Linked DNA regions of Homo sapiens: all the other regions are linked to region 1. Evidence: promoter capture Hi-C in 16 types of primary human blood cells and fetal thymus (Javierre and others, 2016). All regions are on one chromosome and are shown on one strand. The core of a region is centred on a gene start or on the middle of the fragment in contact, and the rest is flanking DNA. Distances in the headings are between cores, read along the strand shown.

Evidence for each region. The method cuts DNA at HindIII sites, captures the fragments that hold promoters and counts their contacts. A CHiCAGO score of 5 or more calls a contact.
Region 2: a fragment that was not itself captured here is called in contact with the fragment with the promoter of PGGT1B in region 1 in 5 of 17 cell types (non-activated CD4 T cells, monocytes, naive CD8 T cells and 2 more); the score reaches 5.4 in non-activated CD4 T cells.
Region 3: a fragment that was not itself captured here is called in contact with the fragment with the promoter of PGGT1B in region 1 in 1 of 17 cell types (non-activated CD4 T cells); the score reaches 5.1 in non-activated CD4 T cells.

The regions. Positions count from the first base shown.
Region 1 is chr5:115,260,883-115,264,509 of GRCh38, forward strand. PGGT1B (protein geranylgeranyltransferase type I subunit beta) reads right to left here and starts at 1,995. Exons shown (of 9, transcript NM_005023.4): 1 at 1,830-1,995. The coding sequence starts at 1,969. RefSeq lists enhancers at 1,854-2,033, 2,064-2,113. The HindIII fragment of the contact is 10,345 bases long and covers 238-3,627 here.
Region 2 is chr5:116,071,414-116,075,320 of GRCh38, forward strand. No RefSeq gene overlaps it. Among named protein-coding and RNA genes, the nearest start is that of COMMD10, 12 kb to the right of the region's middle. The HindIII fragment of the contact is 6,657 bases long and covers 1-3,907 here.
Region 3 is chr5:116,094,757-116,098,495 of GRCh38, forward strand. The region is part of intron 4 of COMMD10 (COMM domain containing 10); the gene reads left to right. Among named protein-coding and RNA genes, the nearest start is that of COMMD10, 12 kb to the left of the region's middle. The HindIII fragment of the contact is 263 bases long and covers 2,100-2,362 here.

The DNA.
Region 1 (3,627 bases), core at 745-3,244:
TCTATATGGATTTGTCCAAGCTGGAATTTTATAAAACAGGCCAAACACATTGGCATTTTGAAAATTAAATCACAGACTTATAGTGATAGCTGCAAGCAAAGTTCAACTGTTTAACAATCACAATTTAATCAGCTCACAGGACTTATACACTGCATCTATCTAAGCAGTGTATGTATACGATAAATATGCACATTATGTATCAATAACAAAAACAGGATGGAAGACTTTTTATCTAAAAGCTTTGAATTCACATAAAATTAATCCCTATTAAGATATAAACAATTTATCAACATTTTAAAACATCTCATATCACTACAATCATAACCTTTCGGTTTGGAAATCTGAATCTTTCAGTGAAGGTATAGGCTCTGCTAATCGATCAACACCTATGAGAGGAGGAAGGAATATAAACGTTTCACTCTTTCTTTTGTGAGAATCTGTTCATCCTTCAGGGCTCAGCTCACATTATTCAACAAATATTTCTTAGTGCTTCTCAGATACCAGGTACTATTTAAGGTCCTAGTGCAATGTTGACCAAAAGGACTAAGCTGTTGCAAATGTTGAAATAGAAACAATTGCCACTGGCCAATATGGCAACTGGGTACTTGAAATGTGGTGGCTACTACCAAAAGAATCACTTAATTTTTAATTTGATTTAATTAATTCAAATCAAAATAGCCAAATGTGGCTAGTGGCTACCAGATTGGACAGGGCAGCCCAGTCCTAAGTATAGAGGTAAACAAGATAGACGAAAATGTTACCTTTGTGAAGTTTATAATCCAGTGTAATAGAAAGACATTAAACAAATAAACCAATACATACGTAATGTGAGGTGGTCATTGGAAGTGGTCCCTTTAGGAAGGGTGTTTAAGGAAGGCCTCTCTAAAGATATCTGGATTATGTACATGCCTGTCTATATACTCCTATGAACACTACACTAACATATAGCACAGAACTCTATACAAATGCTTGTCTTGTTCAGCTGTACTCTGGCACCTACCATAATGTGGTTCTTGACCAAGTGTGCAGAAGTAATCTGCAAAGCTCCCCAAACTGATCCGGTCATGCAGTGTTCAAAATACACCAGCAACTCAGAATTTGGAAAACGTGGGGAAAGAACACAGCAAAAACAAGCCGCTCTTTCCTCCCATCCAGTCTCAAGCAGCTTTTGAGCTTCACTTCAAAACACAGCAATGCGGAGCAAAGATTGCCTTCTCCTTTCTTTCTTCTCATCCCCAGCTTTTACTGTAAATGAAGTCGCTTAGTCTCTGCCGCACCACACTCTTCAGCTATTGCGATACTTTTAACAGGCTGCTTCACGCAACACCACACCTCTTTCGCCTACCATTAGATTTATAGTTCCCACAAAGTTTCTAAGACCTTAGAGGTTCTCTGCCGCTCCTACACATAAAACACCATACAGACACTCTATTAAGAGTTAATGACTTTAGAGAGGACAAGGATGCACAGAAGTATTCATCTAAAAATACGACGACAAACTTTGTCCTTTTCCTTTTACACTCGGAAGTAATGAGGCAAAGTGACAGGCTATGGGAGCGGGTAAAAAAGCAGCTCAGAGTTGCCAGAAGAAAAGGGAAGTGAAAAAGCCGGAAACTGGAGATGCCACAGCCCTCGACCTACAGCCTTCCAGACCTTCCCACCGTACGGCGGGAGAGTGGGGGTAACCTCAAGCCCACTTGAAACCAGTCAGTGCCAACTGGGCGGCCGCGCAGCCCCCTTCCGGCGCCCAGTTTGCGGTCCGACTCCGCCGCGCCTTTCCGCTGGAGCCCGGGCCTTGTGCCAGCCTGGCTGACTGTGCCACGAGTTACCTGCTTGTCTCGAGTGAAGAATAGCGCTCCGGCAAAACCTGGAGGCAGCGCTGGAAAAATCGCACGTGCCGATCCCGTAAGAAATCCAGCCGCTCTCCCTCACCGCTCCCTGCTAGCCTCTCATCCTCAGTGGCCGCCATGCTGCTCCGGAAGCGACGTCCGCCGCGACCCGGAATCAGTGCCCGCGGAGAGAAAGAACCCTCCTGTGCTGAACCACAGGGTGCCGGGTGAGGGGACCTGCGCCCGCCGCAGACTAAGCCAGTATTTGAAACCGCTATCATCTGGGTCCTGTGCAGCACTTCCTCTCTCCGATATCTCCCTAGCTAGCGCATGACCCTACCTTTTCTACTCAAAGCCCTCGAGGCTTGTAAACACCTCGCAGGCCTTGTGAAAATCAAGTCCACAAATCCCTCCGTCAGAATTTTTATCTTGGGAAGCGCAAGGTCAAAAGCATCAAGTACGCTTTGAGACAATTCTGGCTCTGTAGAACCTGAGGATGGTATATCTGAAAACGAGGATGGATCAGTATAAACTTGCTAACAGATTCATTTTTGGAGGGCCAGTTTTAAGCCGAACGGTTAGGGAAACAGAAAAACAAACCAGTGGAGATAAATGTTTATTGACACTACAAAAGCTCAGAGACTTTCCTAATCTTAATCCTTTCTGGATACCAGGAATCACTTAAAAATCTGTGTATAATGCCCCCAAACATATACAACATGCATATTCATACCTATATATGACTGCTTGCGTCATTCTTTTACAAATCTTACAGATTTTACTTTGCTTGAGTCGACGTGTTATCAAGAATCAATGGTGCATCAATCTGCAACAGCAAAATAAGCTCAATATCTTCTCCAATTACCTGCATTCTAAAAAATTTAAACATGCTTCTAGTTCTTTTTTCCAAAAATAGGGATTTAAGTTGTTTAGCCGGTATACTATGCCCTTTAAACTTTCATGAGGCATTCCTGAGTAGCGGGTGGGGGGATCCACCCAATAATATAACTAAACTAGGTTCCCTGTGATCAACTTAGCTAATAAAATTTTGGGTTTAATTTTGTTAGCTTTCTTAGAAAATGTAATTCTTATACTCTATGGGCTGGGGTAATCTTACACTTATTCAACAATCCAAAGTGCTCTGAATAATTTTTGGTACTATTAACTACTTATTCACAGGTATTCCTGCATGTCTTTACAAAATGCCGCATTTAACAGCCACAGACGGATTCTAGGCTGTCCTCGGTACTTCCCTACAAATACGGAGCTCACAGTCCTTGCCCTTCAGGTGTGCCCAGTCTGGAGTTTCCACTGTTATTAAAATTAAGATCTCTCACTTAGCACACATACCCCCAAATGCCTGAAGATTTTTAAAGTGGAGTCTTATACACATTTAACTTACTGGAATCAGCTATGGACACTCTATACATTCTCAGAAAATTAATTCTAATAAACATGGCCCTTAAGTTAGGGAAGCCAAATGTTTCATCTGATTCTCAGCTCAAGGACTAGCAATCTGATCCAAATCTAGAGGAAAAATTTGCAATGTGGGACTCATTCAGAGATAATACAGAATGCCTCCTAGGTCGGTAAAAGGCTTTCCATGAGTGATTTTATCCCTACAAGATTTTTGGCATGTGCATAACAGAATGGGAATGATAGAACATCTATATAATTGAGTGTTATTTAGCCATTACATGATAATGTTTGAATTAGGTAGAAATGTACGAAAATGTGTAATGCAATTATAGCATAGTAATTAATATGTACTGTATGACTGTAACAATTTAAAAATATG
Region 2 (3,907 bases), core at 475-2,974, 810 kb after region 1:
TTGACAGTTTTGAGGAGTCCTAGTCAAGTATTTTGTAGAATGTCCCCTTGGAATTTGTCTGACATTTTTCTCATAATGAAACCAGAGTTATGGGTTTCTGGAAGAAGACACAAAGACCAATTGCCATTTTCATGACACCATACCAAGAGTACTTACTAGCAACATGATTCATCACTGATAATGTTGGCCTTGATCATCTGGTTGAGGTGGTGTTTGTCAGGATTCTTCACTGTAAAGTGACTCTACCCCTACCACCCTTACAAACTGCACTCTTTGGAAAGAAGTCACTATGTGTAGCCTATAATTAAGGAGTAGAGAGTTATGCTTCCCTCTCTTCAGGGATGGGTATTTATATAAATTATTTGTAATTTTACGCAGGAAATTTTGTCTTCTCTCCCTTCTATTTACTCAATAATTATTCAATTATTTAAATAATGGAATAATTTATTAAATTATTTGTTTAGATCAGTATGGACTTGTGGATATTCATTTTATCATTTGGTTTTAAGCTATTAGGAGTTTTTTTCAGTTGCGTTCTATGGTCCTTTAACATATCTGAATCATTGTGAGTTTTAAAATTTTATTTTAAATTTTTAGCACTTCCTTACTCCCTGCACTACAAGGTGTCCCAGGCTCATTTTGTACTTACTGCCCCAGTCCTAGAATCAGCCATTTCTCCAACAAGTCCAGGTTCTTTTTATTGGAGAATATTAGAAACCAAGATTAGGGCACTAGGTGTGATTGAGTTAATAGGCTTTCACACTAAAGTTAAACCTCAAATCAAATGTTCCACAATTATATATTTACCAAGTTGACCTTGATGAACAAATTCTGCCATACAAAAATAAGGAAAAGTCATGAAGGAATCAAAAAAAATTTTATACACACATTTGAAACACAGTATTTTACCATTAGTTTGTCGAAACATGAAAGTATTGTGAAGCGTCTTGAATTCTGGAAAGACAGCTATGAAAATACAGTATTTCAACTCATTTTTCAAGATCTCAATAAAACTTACTAACTTCAAAGTAGAATAAATCAAGGAATCAAATAAAGTTATGTGTTTAGGGAAACACTATTTCTCTTTGAATGTAGTGTTCACAGATTTCTGCATCCTTAGACATACCATTTAACTAAATTGGCTGTCCAACCAAGAGCTTAAATCTTCACTGTAAAAGGGTTTGAAATAGTTTTATTTTATCTATCCCAGGCACCCATATGATACTGGGTATGATGAGGTCTCTAAAGAAGTCTAAGGATGGATCTATGCCTTTACAACAGTTGGCTAATGAAGAAAGGCAATCATATAGAATTCCTTGCTAAAATGTTTGCTTCATATAAGAAACCCTCTCAAAGTCCAGAGAAGAAGGTGAGTAGGTGGTGTACATTTTAGAAAGTGTGAACTGAGTTGGATCTTGAAGTCTTGAAGGTTTGGTTTCTCCACACAGATGCTATTGGCACCTTGGGTGGATAATTCATCATTGTGTGAGACTGTGATTCCTGCTATGTATCAGTAACATTTGTAAGGCATTGGAACAACTCAAATACCTCTACATATTCCCTTCTGGAGATGTAGGAACTGTGGGGAGAGTATATTACAAAGAAGAGACTACAAAACTAGACACAACTGAGAATGGGCATGGCATGCTGGAACAATGAGGAGACTGGGTAGAGTCATTCAAATAATCTGTATTTACCTATGGCTCTAAGGGGCAGATTGGAACCTCTCGAGCTCTTTGGCTTGTTAGAAGCACCACTTTGTCTTTAGCAATGCCACGCCGACTCTGATCCTGAAGGAAAGTAACTGTACCCATCTTGTTAATTTACTAATCTAAGCAAACTGTAAAGAAAAAACTTTTTAAAATCTTGTGTAAATAAAAAATAGGCAGTTACTCTGAAGAGATATATTTGCCTTTTTCCCAAATGCAATAATATTAATAATTTACTTTAGACCTTTCATTTAACACACAAAAATCTTAAGTATATTTTGATAATAATAAATTAATATTATTTACAAATTACCATAAGAATGATGTTAATGTTAGGTCCCACAAAGAATTTTTCTTGGCATGTAAAATATGTTAGTACCTAATATAAAATATCCTGGGCACATAACTAATTATCTTGGTCTTCATGATCTTTTGAATAGTAACTGATGGTAAAAATAATTAATTCTCATCATTGGAAGTTCAAGTAATACAGAGAAGGTAAAAACTTACAGAAAATCTCACCAGCCTGAAATAATTGTGGACATTAACCAAACCTAATTTTAGTAATCACTGTATGCATATTTATATCTAGATCTCAATCTATATGCTATATATCTAATATATGTGATACAGATATATAGAAATGATTTTATTAAAGTGGAAAAGAGAAGAAAAAAAACTATAGAAATTGCTGTATATTAAAGAGTTGTTTCCTTAACAAAGAGATGTTTGTCCCTAAAATATTCCTCTAAGATGGGGGTCACAAACTTAAATGCCTTTAGGCATAGGGACTTTATGACTCATGCAGCAAACTATAAAAATTAAGTTGCTTCTATTGTTTTCAAAATAAGAATCTCTCTGGTTACATTGTCTATGTCATCACTGAGTAGGTTAAACAAAATAAGCAAGCACAGTATTTCTATAGCCCATGAGCCATATTCAGACTAGAGTTCTCTAGAGTGCCACCTCTGCAAAGTTTTAAAGAGATTATGGAAACATTTGGGGCCTGGCATGGTGGCTCATGCCTGTAATCCCAGCACTTTGGGAGGCTGAGGCGGGCAGATCAAGAGGTCAGGAGATTGAGACCATCCTGGATAACATAGTGAAACCACATCTCTACTAAAAATACAAAAAATTAGCCAGGCGTGGTGGCAGGCACCTGTAGTCCCAGCTACTCAGGAGGCTGAGGCAGGAGAATGGCATGAACCCAGGAGGCGGAGCTTGCAGTGGGTGACAGAGTGAGACTCCAACTCAAAAAAAAAAAAAAAGATTATGGAAACATTTTAAGATGTTATAATCAATTTATTTTTTAAATAATGTATTTCATTTTAATTTTTTAAATTTTGTTGGGACATAGTAGGTATAGATATTTATGGGGCACTGTTGTATTTCTTTAAGAGAATGTTTGATTCATAGCATTTGCTTTGAAAGATAAAGAAATAAGTACTCTTAAAACTTTATTCCACCCAATTTTGTCCATTTAAAAATCAGTTGTCTAAGCTATATGATGATTCTATATTATCAAACATTATAACATTTCTACTTAATTTCATAAATTAACTAAATTTTAGTTTTATATGGATTTAATGTTCACTACATGCCACCGCATCTCTGCTACTGAGTTCTGTATTTTCATTAATCTCTTGGTTGGCTTGTTCTCAACTATTAGTTTTAACAAAAAGAGCCCATGAAAACTATGAATGCAGCCACGCTTAGTAAGATCTGACTTTTGCTTTAATATTGAATAGCATGTTCGCTTTTCTCGACCCTTTGTAGACATTGCTATGAAGAAGTCTGAAAGTTGTTGATTATTTTACTCTTGTAAGTGACATGCTTTTTTCACCATGTCGCTTGAATAAATTTTTCTTTATCCTTGGAATTTGATAATTTTACCAGAATCTGTCCCATAATCATCATATTCTATCAGTTTTTCCAAAAAATAATTTGCTCTTTCATTAGACTGTATATTCAGTTTTTCTGACATTACAGAGAAATGGTCTTCTATTAAATATTTGTTTTGATCATCCTACAGAGGCAAAATGGACTTTGTACACCAAGTTTGGTTAGGTGTTGATATGGTTTGGCTGTGTCCCCACCCACGTCTCACCTTGAATTGTAGCTCCCATAATTCCCTCATGTTGTGGGAGGGACTCACTGGGAGATAATTAAATCATGGGGGCGGTTCCCCCACACTGTTC
Region 3 (3,739 bases), core at 981-3,480, 830 kb after region 1:
TAAGAAATCAACCTAAGTGTCCATTAGTGGATGGATGAATAAAGGGAATTTGGTATAATTACACACTGGAATAATATTCAACCATAAAAGAGAGTGAAATGTTGTTTGCAGCAACATGGATAGAACTAGAGGTCTTTATGTTACGTGAAATAAGCTAGACACAGACAAATATAACAGGCACTCACTCCTATGTGGGAGCTAAACAAGTTGATGTCATGGAGGTAGAGAGTAGAATGGTAGTCACCAGAGGCTGAGAAGAATGCATGGGATGTGGGGTCGGAGGGTGGATGAGTAGAAGTTGGTTAATGGGTACAAACATATAATCAGAAGTAATAAGTTTAATGTTTGATAGTTTAGTATGGTGCTTATAGTTGACATCAATATATTGGTCATTTCAAAATAGCTAGAATTAAGGAAGTGAACTGTTCTGAACACACACAAATGATAAATGCTCAGGGTGGTGAATATCTTAAATACCCTGACATGATCATTACACAGTCTATGCATATAAGAAAATATAACACATATCTCATAAATATGCAAAAATATTATGTATTGATTAACAAATAGGCTTTGTGTTAGATGATTTTGCTCAACCACAGGCTAATGTAAGTATACTGAACATGTCTAAGGTTAGCTAAGCTAAGCTGTGATGTTTGGTAGATTAAGTGTATTAAATACATTTGTGAATTATTGTATTTTAACTTAACGATAGATTAATTGAGGCATAAGCCCATTGTAAGTCAAGGAGCATCTGTATATTCTCTAGAAGTCCTCTGTGAGATATATGATTTGCACGTATTTTCTCCTAATCTGTAGCTTTCCTTTTCATTCTCTTAACAGTATCTTTCCCAGAACAGAACCATTAACTTTGATGAAATCTGTTGTATTTTTTTTTTCTCTTTTCATGAACCTACTTCTGGTTTTCTAGGAATTTGCAGCCTAATCATGACATAAATATTTACTGTTTTCTTCTAAATGTTTTACATATTTATATTTTATGTTTAGATCTAAAATCCATTTACTGTTAATTTTGTATGATACATAAAGTGCAGGTCAAAGTTCATTTTTTCTATGTATGGATGTTCATTTGCTCCAATGTGATTTGTTGTTAAAATTATCATTTTGTCATTGAATTACCATGTGTTTGTCTAAAATCATTTGATATTTTTGTGAGTCTTTTTCTGGAATCTCTCTTTGATTTCATTGACTTATTTGTCTATGCCAATATCACACTGCCTTAATTATTATAGCTTAATAGTAAGTGTTAAAATCAGGTATTGTGAACCCACTGACTTTTTTCTTCTTTTTTATAATTGTTTTGGCAATCCTAGTTTCTTTGCCTTTTCATATGTTTGAAAATCAGCTTTTGTATTTCTGTAAAAAATCCTGCTTGGGGTATTGATTGGGGTTGTGTTTAATTTGTAAATAACTTTATTGAGAAATGACTCCTTAATAAGTATTGAGTATATCTATTTATTTAGGTCTTCTTTGATTTCTTTTATCAGTGTCTTTTGTTTTCAGCTTATCAATCCTGCCCTTATTTTGTTAGGTTTGTACCTTAAGTACTTTTTCTTTCTTTTTTTTTTTGTTGTTGAACTATTGGTAGTATTTTTCAAATTTTGTTTTCCAATGGCTTATTGATAGTATATGGAAATACAGTAGACTTTTCTATACTGATCTCTATCCTGTAACTTGGTAAATTCACTAATTAGTTTTAGCAGCTTTCTTATAGGTTTTTTGTGATTTCCTTTGAAGGCAGTCACGTTGTCTGTGAATAAAGACAGTTTTATTTCTTCCTTTTCAATCTGTAGAGCTTTTATTTTTCTTGCTTTATTTTACTGACAAGGACTTCCAACGTGATGCTGAATAGGAGTGGTAAGTCTGAATATCCTTGCCTTGTTCCCAATTTTAGGGTGAAAGCATTCAGGCTCTTATCATTAAGTAGGATGTTAGAAAATGCCCCTTTATTGTTTTCACTTCTCTACTTCCCTTTTTAAAAATTCTGTATTCTTACTACTCTCAAGTGTCTTCTATGTCATTGCTTCATTTTTTATCATTTTAAAGTCTACTTTTTCCTATATCCTCTATAGATTTTAAGCTTTCCATTTGTTTCCCTGCAATTCTTTTTTTAAGCCATTTTCATTTTTAAAAAAAATTCTTGGCTTTTTAATAGTAGCCTGTTTTCTGTTTATATTTTTCCTATATTTTATACAGTCCGTTTTTTTCCTTGCACTTTAGTAGTCATAACAATTAAAAATATTTTTGTTTTCTGCTTCTAATAGTAAATTACTTTTTAGTGTCTTCATGATGAAAGTTTGTTTTTTTAAAGGTAATATTTTTCCCATAGTTGGATTACAGAAGCTTCTCTTTAAGAAATTAATTAATCATTTGTCATATAAAATATGCAAATAAAGAAGTTGGAATGATCTGATTAATTGTACATTGTCCCATTGAGAATGCTGGAAATTATCTTTTGGTAATTCTGGGTATATCATAGGATTGCTAATATACTATTTTAAAGTCTGAAATGCTTAAATAATATAATGATAACAAGCATTTATTGTGCTTATTGTGGGTCAGATGTTATAATGAGTTCTTTGTATGTTACAAAACCCATTAATAGTTCTAGTTTATACATGTACTTATAAAATTGAGGCTTAGAGAGGTTTAAAAAGTTGCCCATGATTGTACAGCTAAGTAAGTGGCTGAGTTGGGATTTGACAAGAATAGTCACATTCCTAAGCTATTATGCTATCCTAACACATAGATGTTAGCTGCGGAATTTTTCTGCGTCAGGCATTATGCAGGGTGATTTATATAGTTGTTTGTATGTACTTCATATTAGTCCATTCTCACATTGCTATAAATAACCTGAAATAGGGTAATTATATAAAGAAAAGAGGTGTAATTTGCCCACGGTTCTGCAGGCTGTACGGGAAGCATGATGTGCTGGCATCTGCTTGGCTTCTGGGGAGGCCTCAGGAAACTTACAGTCATGGTGGAAGGTGAATGGGGAGCAGGTGTCTTTCATGGCAGGAGCAGGAACAAGAGAGAGAGGGAGGAGGGAGGGGCTACATACTTTTGAACAAGCAGGTCTTGCGAGAACTCAACTATCACAAGAATAGCACTGAAGGGATGGTGCTAAAGCATTCATGAGAAGCCTGCCCCCATGATCCAGTCACCTCCCACCGGGCCCACCTCCAACACTGGAGATTACAATTGCACATGAGATTTGTTGTGGTCACAGATCCAAACCATGTCACATACCTTTTAAAAGTGAGGAAATAAAACTTTAGAAAATATTAGTCACTTTATCATATTATCCCAAGTGGTCCATGATGAAACTGAAATGAGGATTGGATCTGTCTGTCTCTAAGTCTTATTCCTTTTATATCATGCTACCTCTGGCAGCTGTAATGCTATCTTTCTTTTTCATTCTGAGAACTGTTTAGGATACTGTGGCCAAAATAGCCAGATGTGAAAACAGATCATGCCATTTAAATTGTAACAAAAATATATTACACTGACTTATATGATGAAAAAAGGTGTACATGCAATGACTTTAACTGTTTTATGGTAACTTAGGGTCCTACCCACATAAACTGTGGGGTGCTTGCAGCAGAACACATGTTGGTAGTACAGTCAGCCCTCTGTATCCCTGGATTTCGTATTCATGGATTAAACTCGCAGCAGATCAAGAATATTTGGGAAACAAAAAATTCCAAAAAGTGAAACT